Linked DNA regions of Homo sapiens: regions 1, 2 and 3 are each linked to region 4. Evidence: promoter capture Hi-C in human tissues and cell types (Jung and others, 2019). All regions are on one chromosome and are shown on one strand. Each heading gives the region's core, a stretch centred on a gene start or on the middle of the fragment in contact. The rest is flanking DNA. Distances are from core to core; before and after follow the strand shown.

Region 1 (3,090 bases), core at 228-2,727, 180 kb after region 4:
AATGTCCAACAGTGATAGACTGGATTAAGAAAATGTGGCATATATACACCATGGAATACTATGCAGCCATAAAAAATGATGAGTTCATGTCCTTTGTAGGGACATGGATGAAATTGGAAATCATCATTCTCAGTAAACTATCGCAAGGACAAAAAACCAAACACCGCATGTTCTCACTCATAGATAGGAACTGAACAATGAGAACACATGAACACAGGAAGGGGAACATCACACTCTGGGGACTGTTGTGGGGTGGGGGGAGGGAGGAGGGTTAGCATTAGAAGATATACCTAATGCTAAATGATGAGTTAATGGGTGCAGCACACCAGCATGGTACATGTATACATATGTAACTAACCTGCACATTGTGGACATGTACCCTAAAACTTAAAGTATAAAAAAAAAAAAAAAGAAAAGAAGCAATGGCCAGCAAAACTGGCACATGGGACTGTTTCATACCTGATCCTGTGACATTTACAGGCTCTTCCACTCCCAGTTGTGTGGACATATATGGGTACCCAGAGCAGGGAGCAGGCTACTGCCACCCTGAACCACCGAATGGGGACCTCAGTGCCCAGTTTCCAGCAAACCATCTTCCACACAATAGGCAATCACCTTTTCAAGTTTTTTCACCATAGGTTAGTTCTGCGTATTCTACGAGTTCATATAATTGGAATCATATAGTATGCACTCTCTTGTGTATGGCTTGTTTCACTCAGAATATTGCATTTAAGATTCATCCATACTGTTGCATGCTATAGATGTTTGCTCTAGTATTGCTGAGTAGTATTCCATCACATGGATGTACCACAATTCACAATGTACCACTGCTATTCGTGAACATCTGGACTATTCCCAGCTTGGGGGCCTACTCCCTTCTTGCCTCTCATTTTGCCTTCTGCCTGCTTATATGGGCCGTCCTCCCGTATTGAAGAGACTGGTCCATGGAGACAAACTGACAAGGGTTGGAGCTACTTGCAGAGTGACATTAACAAGTTGTTAGGCTTCTCTGACTCTCCATTTGCTCTTCTGGGGACAATAGTGATAACACCTAGTAATACCTTAGAGTGGGAAGGAACTCAAAGAACCAGAACCTGGAACATCGCAGTATTTAATAATAACAGCTTTATTTTTATGACTATTATATTAGTTTCCTATGGCTGCTATAAGCAAGAACCACAAACTTGATAGCTTAAAATAACAGCAATGTATTCTCTCACAGTTCTGGGGTCTAAAAACCCAAAATCAAGGTGTAGGCAGACTCACACTGTCTTTATAGGCTCTAGAGGAAAATTTGTTCCATGTGTTTCTCTGAGCTTCTGGTGTTGACAGTAAACCCTGCGGTTATTTGGCTTGCAGGCACATCATTCCAGTCTCCACCTCCATCTTCACATGCATCCTTCCAATGTTTTTTGTCTCTGTGTCTCTTCTCTTTGTGTCATAATGACACCAGTCATACTGGAATACAGGTCCACCCTACTCCAGTATGACCACATTGTACCTAATTACATCTACAATTACCCTATTTCCAAATAAAATTCACATTCTAATATTCCAGGAAAAGCATGAATTTGAGAACATTATCCAACCCGGTACAACTACTCCCCAACTAAATTGTAAAATAATTTACTTAAAGGATTGTGTTTTATATCATATTCCTGTGCGTCCCTCAGTGGTCAATAAATGTTTAAGTGAAGCAGAAATGGATAATGATGATGGATTTAAGCTCTACTTTGAGGATTGGTAAGAAGAAAAGATCAAACAGCAGAATAAAGCATAGAATTTTAGCCTCAGTTTCTGTAGATTTCATTGTATATTTTTTGGGAAGTTTTGGAGTCAAGAAACTAATATACTTCCACAAGAAGTTAGCATTTTCATGTAGCTAATCAGAGATTCATGTTGTTCCACCTAGGAGACTTAATAAAAAAATAAAGTTAGAAAAAGATTGAAAGTGATTTTCAGATTTTATTTCAGCTATAGTAAGACATTTCTTTAACATTTGTTCTCAGATAAAACAGTGCTCTGACATTCTCCTAGACCTGGTGAATTCCCTCTAGGAGCAGAGGTTGCTGAAGTATATAAACACTGCACCACAAAATCATTCCCTTCCCAGTTCTTCAGGTAAGAACGGAAAAAAAAATAAAGTTCAAATTCCCTGTTTACACAAGGGTAGATATTAATAGGGACCACATATATCCTGATTTATTTTGTACCTTCTCTGTTGTTTACGTAACTTTGCCCTGATGGCCAAATTCCATAGGAGTAGGGTATGCCAAGTGTTAGAATTACAATTAGATATAAATTAGACAAAGTTTCAGTCTTATTATCAATAATATCCAATTATAGACATATAAAGGATATATGAAGCCTACCTGGTTCTTCTTATGGTCTTCAATCACTTTCTAGAATAAAAAGATATAAAACCTCCCCAGTAGTGTTATATCTCAAAGATTATGAAACATTTCTAGTAGCAAAAAAAAAAAAAAAAAAAAAAAAAATACCCCACAAAATGACCATTTTCTCATTGGTAGTCTTCTATGTTGTTCTGCAACCTGGTTATAGGAATATACATTTTTCCTAAAGGACTCAATAAAAATGCTTTTATTTTGAAAGTAAGCAAAATAAACCTAAAAGCATTTATATTTTTCTGAACTCACAACAGTTCTAAAGTAGTTTCTCTTCACCCCACTAAAATAATTGCTTGAAAGTTTGCCTAACTATCCAAACCAATTCCCACACGTCATAAGAGAAAAAAAACAGCAAAGCCAACTATATAGTTAAGCAAAAAAGGCCACCTGCTTACATAGTGAAGGTATGGAGCAAAAAAACAAAGGAGCTCCTCGCATGTCAAATATGATCCATGCATGCTCTTCCACTTTTACTAAATTTTGTCAATTATAATCTAGTTTGATTTAAGCCTCAAAGAGTTAGATTAAAATTCAAACTCTTGCTGAGAGAGATAACAAATAAATAAATAAATAAATACCTAGACATTTACATGTCTAGGTAAATTTATAATATCAGATGATGCCTTGGTAAGGACCTGAGAGAATGAGACCTTGTGCAAATACATTTTTACAAGTAGGAGAA
Region 2 (3,221 bases), core at 280-2,779, 150 kb after region 4:
TGACCAATTTATCACCCATCCCAGTTCCCTCCTGCTGTTGCCTGAGGCCCCTGCCCTCTAGCTCCAGATTCTACTAAATACGTTTGAAATCCACTGGGCTAGATTGTTTCTAGGATCTCTTCCAGCTGCATGATTCATGCTTCATGGTCTAGATATTATCAAAATCACACAAATGTAGCAAATTAGAGTAGGCGCTCCAGCATTCAGAGTAACCTCTATGGGTATAAGTTGAAATTATTACCCCTCCTTTCTTTCAAGAACCTGTAGAGAAAGCCAAAGGCCCAAGTATTGTGAGAGATACTTGGAAAATGATTGTTTTGCATCCTAGGAAAGTGATTAATTTGAAAGAACAGCCAGTTATCAGCAATACCTGATGAAGAAGCATTAACATTAACAAAATATATGGCCAAAAGATAACATTCATTTCTTTGAGTTAGTGCATAGATCTGGGATCAGCAAATTACAGCCCTACTCCTTTTTTTTCTTGATAATAGCTTTATTGGGGTATAATTCACATATTATACAATTCAATAGCTTTCTTTTTCAGTATATTCAAAGACTGTGCAATGAGGACCACAATCAGTTTCAGAATATCTTCATCACTACAGGAATAACCTCCTTATCTTTCATCAGTCATCCCTCAACCTCCTCAACCGAGGCAAGCACTAGTCTCCTATCTGCCTCTATAGATTTGCCCATTCGGGACATTTCATTTCAATGTAATCACACGATATAAGATATTCTGTAATTGGCTGCTTTCACTTAGCATAATGTTTTCAAGGTTCATACATGTTGCAGCATATATCAGTACTTCATTCCTTTCTATGGATGAATATACCATTTATATTGTATGGATACGTCTGTTGCATTTATCCACCCATCCATCGATGGATATGTGGGTTTGTAAAAGGAAAATAAAATCTCAGGACCCCAAACTCACTATGCCAAAGGGAAAAGTTAAGCTTCAAAACTGAGTCAACAAAAACAAAAGCAAACAAACCCTCCTTTTGAACGAAGAGACAGCTGTAATTTCACATGTTTACATTATCATATGTAAAATGTAGATCTGCAAAGAACACAAGACAAATGAATGACTAATTGACTTTTTATCCCAATCCTCTCTTTTCTTGTGTAAAATGTGGATTCAGTGGTTGCTAATCAAAGCCTCAAAGAATGTAACTGCTTGTCTCACTATCTAACCCCCTTTTTTTCCCTCTTTCCTCCCTCCCTTTCTGCCCATTCTTTCCCCTTTAAATATTGAAGCTGTCAAAACCTTCTTTGGAAAAAGCACAGGCTACAGATTCTACTGTAATTTGTGTTTCTTTTTCCCAGGTGTGTCCTCAACCTTAGCAAAATAAATCTCTAAATGTATTGAGATCTCCTCACTTTTTGGTTTACAGGTTGTGTCTGCCTTTTGGAAATGGAGCAAGTGTCGGTGTCTCCATGTTGCTCCCCCACCACCATTTGCTGTCACTCTTGCCTTGAGAAATCAGATTAGGATAAGGGGAGTAGCCACAGACAAGAAGTCTCTGTGCTTTCCACCCAGAAGGAATTTTAGGTGAAAGAAGAGAAATGGCCTCTAAGATCCTTCCCTTCCTGGCTGTTATTTTCCGAAGCCTAAACTCATGTATAAGCCTATGTGATGTATCCTAGAGGGAGAGAAACAAACATCCCTAAAAAAGGCACCAGAGAGAAGAAGGTAATTCTTCCTATTTCTAGGGACACAGAGGGCCAAGTGGGAAGAGAGACCACTAGGCCTGGGGAGCAGCGGGCAGCCCCTGGCAGTGCCCTGGGACTATCAGCAGGGAATGGTCATCATTCCCCCAATGTGTCCAGCAATCAGAGGGAGAGGGCCCTGGGTCAGTGGGCAATTCCTTAAGGAGAGAACCCCAGTAGGGACAGAAATTTAATTTCTCCCTTGACTACAGGGCTAGAGGCTCAGAATTACTATCATGTTAGCCTAAAGTTGCATTCCAAGCTGAGTTTTTGGACTGAGATTCATACTCACAAGAGACAGGAATGACTACAGGAGACTAATAAAATAAATATATGTGTGATTAGGACTCAGAAGAGCAGTGCCCCAAGCCCTCCCTGTTGGAGGTAGGCAAGAACAGAAGGAAAGCAAGTATTAGATTGGTGCAAATGTAATATCAGTTTTTGCAATTATTCTTAATGGCAAAAAGAGCAATTACTCTTGCAGCAACCTAATAATTCAGACAAGTTCAGAATGGCCCCCACTCTTTGGTACTAAAGCAGAGGTTCAGGTGAATATCAGGCACAGCAGCTCCAGTAATCAATAGATGCTCAAAGACAAGACCTCTGGGCCACCTGAGTGTGTCCTTCACTTCTATTTCTCTTTGTAGTTTGTATTTTATCCTGAGCTCCACTGCAGGCTTTTCTTTTTTGTTTAAGTAAAAGACTATAGTATAGAAACTACATGTTTTAATGAATATATGTATATTTACTTATATATATAGTATATATATTTATATATATTGTATATATATTTATATATATTTATATATATACTATATATATTTATATATAGTATATATATATTTGATATATATTTATATATTTATATATTTATATATATTTTATATATTTATATAGTATATATATTTGATATATATTTATATATTTATATATATTTTATATATTTATATATATATTTTTATATATATTTTATATATATATTATATATATTTATATATATTTATATATTTATATATATTTTATATATATATTTTATATATTTATATATTTTTATATACATATTTTATATATATTTATATATATTTTATATATATTTATATATATTTTATATATATTTATATATATATATATATCTCCTTGTGACTATTAACAATTCCTTTGCTCTATCATGATGATAGATTTCTATAATCATAGCTATTTTACTCCTGCCAAAACCTATTTCACAGCCAGCTTGCAGGCACCAAAAACCAAAAGTGGGTGGATAAATGTGAATTTGGAAGTAAATTTTAGTAATGTCTTAAGATGTGCTTTTAACAGAAAATTTTCCTCCCACAGGAGGCAAAGTCATTGCTCTTGTCCTTTCCACCAAAGGAGAGTTTATTTCTTTTTTTTTATTTTAATTTAACCAGAAGTCTTCTTACCTTTGCAACTGTGTCACCAGTGACTCCCCACCACCCTTGGTCTTCAGCCCCAAGGGAGCTGCTTATCATATCCTACTGACAGTC
Region 3 (3,217 bases), core at 400-2,899, 200 kb after region 4:
TAACTCATCCTTTTTTATGGCTGCATAGTATTCCATGGTGTATATGTGCCACATTTTCTTAATCTGGTCTATCATTGATGGACATTAGGGTTGGTTCCAAGTCTTTGCTACTGTGAATAGTGCTGCAATAAACATACATGTGCATGTGTCTTTACAGGAGCATGATTTATAATCCTTTGGGTATATGCCCAGTAATGGGATGGCTGGGTCAAATGGTATTTCTAGTTCTACATCCTTGGGGAATTCCCACACTGTCTTCCACAATGGTTGAACTAGTTTACAGTCCCACCAACAGTGTAAAAGTGTTCCTATTTCTCCACATCCTCTCCAGTACCTATTGTTTCCTGACTTTTTAATGATCGTCATTCTAACTGGTGTGAGATGGTATCTCATTGTGGTTTTGATTTGCATTTCTCTGATGGCCAGTGATGATGAGCATTTTTTCATGTGTCTGTTGGCTGCATAAATGTCTTCTTTTGAGAAGTGTCTGTTTATATTCTTTGCCCACTTTTTATGGGGTTGTTTGGTTTTTTCTTGTAAATCGTTTCAGTTCTTTGTAGATTCTGGATATTAGCCCTTTGTCTGATGGGTAGATTGCAAAAAGTTTCTCTGATTCTGTTGGTTGCCTGTTCACTCTGATGGTGGTTTCTTTTGCTGTGCAGAAGCTCTTTAGTTTAATTAGATCCCATTTGTCAATTTTGGCTTTTGTTGCCATTGCTTTTGGTGTTTTAGACATGAAGTCCTTGCCCGTGCCTATGTCCTGAATGGTATTGCCTAGGTTTTCTTCTAGGGTTTTTATAGTTTTAGGTCTAACATTTAAGTCTTTAATCCATCTTGAATTAATTTTTATACAAGGTGTAAGGAAGGGATCCAGTTTCAGCTTTCTACATATGTCTAGCCAGCTTTTCCAGCACCGTTTATTAAATAGGGAATCCTTTCCACATTGCTTGTTTTTGTCAGGTTTGTCAAAGATCAGATGGTTGTAGATGTGTGGTATTATTTCTGAGGGCTCTGTTCTGTTCCATTCGTCTCTGTTTTGGTACCAGTACCATGCTGTTTTGGTTACTGTAGCCTTGTAGTATAGCTGGAAGTCAGGTAGCGTGATTCCTCCAGCTTTGTTCTTTTTGCTTAGGATTGTCTTGACACTGGGGGCTCTTTTTTGGTTCCATATGAACTTTAAAGTAGTTTTTTCCAATTCTGTGAAGAAAGTCATTGGTAGCTTGATGGGGATGGCATTAAATCTATAAATTACCTTGGGCAGTAGGGCCATTTTCACGATATTGATTCTTCCTATCCATGAGCATAGAATGTTCTTCCATTTGTTTGTGTCCTCTTTTATTTTGTTGAGCAGTGGTTTGTAGTTCTCCTTGAAGAGGTCCTTCACATCCCTTGTAAGTTGGATTCCTAGGTATTTTATTCTCTTTGAAGCAATTGTGAATGGGAGTTCACTCATGACTTGGCTCTCTGTTTGTCTGTTATTGGTGTATAGGAATGCCTGTAATTTTTGCACACTGATTTTGTATTCTGAGACTTTGCTGAAGTTGCTTCTCAGCTTCAGGAGATTTTGGGCTGAGATGATGGGGTTTTCTAAATATACAATCATGTCATCTGCAAACAGGGACAATTTGACTTCCTCTTTTCCTAATTGAATACCTTTTATTTCTTTCTCCTGCCTGATTGCCCTGGCCAGAACTTCCAACAGTATGTTGAATAGGAGTGGTGAGAGAGGGCAACCCTGTCTTGCGCCAGTTTTCAAAGGGAATGCTTCTAGTTTTTGCCCACTCAGTATGATATTGGCTGTGGGTTTGTCATAAATAGCTCTTATTATTTTGAGATACATCCCATCAATACCTAGTTTATTGAGAGTTTTTAGCATGAAGGGCTGTTCAATTTTGTCGAAGGCCTTTAACAGACAGAAAAGTTTTAAAATTTGTTGGCCGGGTGCGGTGGCTCATGCCTGTAATCCCAGCACTTTGGGAGGCTGAGGCGGGCGAATCACAAGGTCAGGAGATCAAGACCATCCTGGCTAACACGGTGAAACCTCGTCTCTACTAAAAATACAAAAATTAGCCAGGCGTGGTGGCAGGCGCCTGTAGTCCCAGCTACTCAGGAGGCTGAGGCAGGAGAATGGCGCAAACCTGGGAGGTGGAGTTTGCAGTGAGCCGAGATCACGCCACTGCACTCCAGCCTGGGTGACAGAGCAAGACTCCATCTTGAAAAACAAGAAACAAAAAACAAACAAACAAAATTGTATGGTGGACATTAATATACCTAACACTTAGATTCTACAATTGCCAAGCATTGGCTACTTTTGTTTCATTCACATATGTATCTACTAATTTGTTTTATTTTTACCCACTTTTTGAAGATAGAATTTATACATCATAAAATTTACCCATCCTAAGTGTACCTGATTAGTTTTACAAAAACTATACAATTGTGCAACCATCACCACAATTAGTCTCTGCTCCCTCTCCTTGCCCTAGCCAACTACTGATCTTTTTGCCTCTACAGTTTTTGCCTTCCCCAGAAATTTCATATAAATGGAATCATACACTATGTATCCTTTGGTACTTGGCTATTTTTCAGTTAGTATAATGTTTTTGAGGTTCATCCATACTGTTTTATGTATTTATTTTCATTGCTGAATAATCTTCCATTGTATGGACATAACTACATATGTTTATTTCATTAGTTAATGGATATTTGTTAGTTTTTTTCAGCTTGGAGCTATTATAAATAGTCCTACCATGGGTCTTTATGTAAGCATATATAAGCATGTATTTTTGTTTCTCTTGGGTAGCTATCTGGGGGAGTGTTATTACTGAGGCACATGGTGCTTGTATGTTTAACATTTTAAGAAAGTACCAGGTGTACCATTTTACAATTCACTAGGCAATATGTGAGGCTGCCGGTATCTTCCTCACTACTACTTGGTATTGTCTTTTTTATTGCAATCATTTTAGAGGGCATGAAGTGGATCTCATTGTGGGTTTAATCTATATTTCTGTAATCACTAATGATAATGAGGATCTTTCCATGTGCTTACATGTGCTAACTTACTATTCTTTTTTCCTTTTTTTTTTTTCTTGGTGAAATATCTGTGGAAATCTTTTTTTTTTTTTTTTTAAGAAGATGTTGTTCTGCTGCCCAGGCTGGAATACAGAGAGTGCAGCTCACCATGTCCTCAAACTCCTGCACTCAAGCAAAGTTCCCA
Region 4 (2,857 bases), core at 172-2,671:
TGCAGCACAGGTTACCAAGCAATCTTATAAACAGAATGTGGGTCCAAATGAGTATTTTACATTGCTTCTTCTAAAGTCAATCCTGTTTTTTTTTTTAAGTGACTCCACTTAAGTCTGCTCAAAACTGGACACTAAAGGAGCAGCACAGCAAAAGAGAGAAACAAAAGAATGTGGAAAACAAGAGGGCCTAGGAAGCACTGTAAACCTTATCCCTCCCTCACCAAGTCATTGTGATAGTGGCAGGACTTGGAAGCCAAAAGCAAAACATTTATTTGCTTTTTAGGGAATTTTAGCAAACAGCTCCCCAGTTAGTTAAGCCTTCTACATCAAACTCATAACATTTTTTAAATGTAGTTGAGGATACAACTTTACACATGCCTTTTTCCTGAAAAGATGTTTAGAGTGGCTTCTACAAAGGTCCCAGAAGTAAACATCATGAATTAGCCTAGAGAAAGAATGCTAGATGAAGTACATATTCATATATATATATGTATATATAAATTACATACAGTATTAGCAAAATACACTACCTGTTAATTTTTAACAAATATAGTATAATATTAGGAAAACATTAAGGAAGGGATGTCAAAAATTAAAACTATAGCATATAAATATCTTTAAAAAAATACTGTGCTTGCTGGTACGCTCCTTCATTCACACTCCTTCATTCCATGTTTGAAGGGTGTTAGTTGCCCTAATCAACAGCTTTAACCATAGGACTAGGTGACTCATTCGTCCCATAGTCACATCTCTGTAGTCAGAAGACAAACATGACAAAGGGCATGCACAAAAAGTTTACTCTGATATGCCTTAAAAATCTGTAGACAAGAGAGGGCCAAGATAAGTTTAGCCTGTTTACCACATGCTGGAATTCAGCTCATTTCACATCTATCTTCTATTGCTGTAAATGTATATAGTGTGCACTCCATGAAAACTGACACCAATGTTGGCAAAATACAACAAAGCTTCCTAACACATCAAATGGATTTTTAAAAATCTGAGCTCCAAGAACACATATCTTGGAGCACTGAGCTCCTGCAAGCAATCAGCTGGTTTTAATTTCTCTCCCGCAGCTGCTAAAATGCTGGTTTCAACCTGTAAAGATTTCTGGGCCCCACCAGTCAGCACGTCTCACGGTCTTCACAGCCCCAGATTCCGGGAGACAATGCATCTAAAACGAACAGCGGCTGGGAACGGTGGAGGATACCTTCACGATAGTTGCTTCCAGAGAAAGGCATGCAAGTCTAATTTTAATGGTAAGAATCACTTACTCTGTTACAGTGGTGCTGCTGAAGGAATTATCCTGAAGGCTGAAACAGAAACAAGAAAACATCAGCCAAGTCTGGCCGGGGAGCCGTCTCCCTGATTGCTCTCCGGGAGTTAGAGCACATACACAAACATGGCATTGCAAGGCAAGTCTCCGGGCTCGCCCGGCACGCTCGCTCTACCTTGGGCTGCTGTCTGCACATGCTCGTAACGACACCCCCAGCAGGGGCCCAGCGGCACGGGCGAACCACAAAGCCCGGCAGCCCGCGAGGCTGCGGGGACAGAGCTGGGCGGGGCGCGGCGGCGGGGCTGGGACCCCGGGATCCAGCGAGGAGCACCTGGAGAGTTACCACACGACCCCGACCTCGCCAGCCCAGGCGCCGCGTTTAATCTTGGGCTCTTTGTGCCAGCCACCCCCCGAGGCTGGCAATGAGAATGCCCCAGTGTTTCTGCCGAAGTGCTGAAATACCCGGGAGACTTGCTTTCTTCCACATGTCTCCTACCAATTTTACAGAGCTCACCCCAACCCCCCACACTCCCACCCCACCCCCAGGGATGGAGGCTCGCAGAGATTCATCCATCGTTCAGAAAAAGTCAGGAGAGAACAAGAAGGGGGAGGGGGATATTGCTGCTGTTTGGTGTTTTATTTTGTGTGTGTGTTTTTTGTTGCCTAGGAAAAAGAATAGGCTCTAAAGCAGGGCTGGCTGCATCACACCTGATCTGTCTAGAGCGCTCTTATTTCAGTCCCAGAGAGGAAGCGCCCAGCCCCGGACTACAGAGCTGTGAATGAACCCACGCAGGGCGAGTGGAGAATTTATTCCAGGGGTTAGCTGGTGATTAGGACACCGTGCAAGGGGTGGGGCTTGCTATGCCTAGAGCAGCCCGCTTGAGCTCAGCTCCCTAGCTAGCACCTTTACAAAGGATGGAGAGACGGAATCCGCAAACGCTATCCCTTTGAATAAAGGCAGCCTTGTTAGGGAAAGGAAAGACTGTCAGTCCCCCCACTGGCTTCTTTCCCTTGGGGATATTTGTTCTGCCCTCTTTGTATTGTTCATTTCTCCTGCCATGTTGACCTGGATATGGGATGTAGCATCTATTAAAGATTCTTATTTGAATTTGAATTATTTTATTTGAATTTTGAAATAAGATTCCCATCCCCCTTTTTAATCTTTCTACTCCCAGAAGCAGCTAGGATAGTGGTTTTTAGTCCAAACCTATGTAAGTTAATGAGTTAACATAACAACAAAAAACTCATAATTTTTCTAATTGGGCAATTAAAAACTTTACCAAAACTTGGAAATAATGGGGAAGAGCATGACCTTTCAATGTCAAACTGAGACATCGGTTAACAAGTCCACCCAGGGGCCAGTTAATTCTCCAGTTGTGTTTGGCTTTGCTCTTCACTATTGATTAGATTCCAGCCACAGTGAAGTTCTGTGGTCACTTGCACATTTTATTCAGCCTGTTCAGAGAAAAAGATAATCGCAGCGTTTATGATTTTATTGCAATATAGGAAGATAACCAATTTTGCATCTAACCAAATAATCATTTTGCATCTAACCAAACTTTCTTTCTAAATACCTGTAAATCC

The links. The method cuts DNA at HindIII sites, captures the fragments that hold promoters and counts their contacts. A contact is called where the count stands out against the background at its distance.
Region 1: a fragment that was not itself captured here is called in contact with the fragment with the promoter of FAM13C in region 4 in 1 of the 25 tissues and cell types used here (mesenchymal stem cells).
Region 2: a fragment that was not itself captured here is called in contact with the fragment with the promoter of FAM13C in region 4 in 2 of the 25 tissues and cell types used here (IMR-90 fibroblasts and spleen).
Region 3: a fragment that was not itself captured here is called in contact with the fragment with the promoter of FAM13C in region 4 in 4 of the 25 tissues and cell types used here (dorsolateral prefrontal cortex, heart right ventricle, hippocampus and 1 more).

What each region holds. Positions count from the first base shown.
Region 1 is chr10:59,541,631-59,544,720 of GRCh38, forward strand. No RefSeq gene overlaps it. Among named protein-coding and RNA genes, the nearest start is that of SLC16A9, 170 kb to the right of the region's middle. The HindIII fragment of the contact is 5,622 bases long and covers 1-3,090 here.
Region 2 is chr10:59,513,629-59,516,849 of GRCh38, forward strand. All of the region lies in intron 1 of LOC107984235 (a long non-coding RNA gene), which reads right to left. Among named protein-coding and RNA genes, the nearest start is that of FAM13C, 150 kb to the left of the region's middle. The HindIII fragment of the contact is 9,242 bases long and covers 1-3,221 here.
Region 3 is chr10:59,565,480-59,568,696 of GRCh38, forward strand. No RefSeq gene overlaps it. Among named protein-coding and RNA genes, the nearest start is that of SLC16A9, 140 kb to the right of the region's middle. The HindIII fragment of the contact is 8,599 bases long and covers 1-3,217 here.
Region 4 is chr10:59,361,128-59,363,984 of GRCh38, forward strand. FAM13C (family with sequence similarity 13 member C) reads right to left here and starts at 1,422. Exons shown (of 14, transcript NM_198215.4): 1 at 1,272-1,422. The coding sequence starts at 1,333. It overlaps LOC124902428 (a long non-coding RNA gene), which reads left to right and starts at 772. Exons shown (of 2, transcript XR_007062148.1): 1 at 772-1,256; 2 at 1,941-2,387. The HindIII fragment of the contact is 7,624 bases long and covers 245-2,857 here.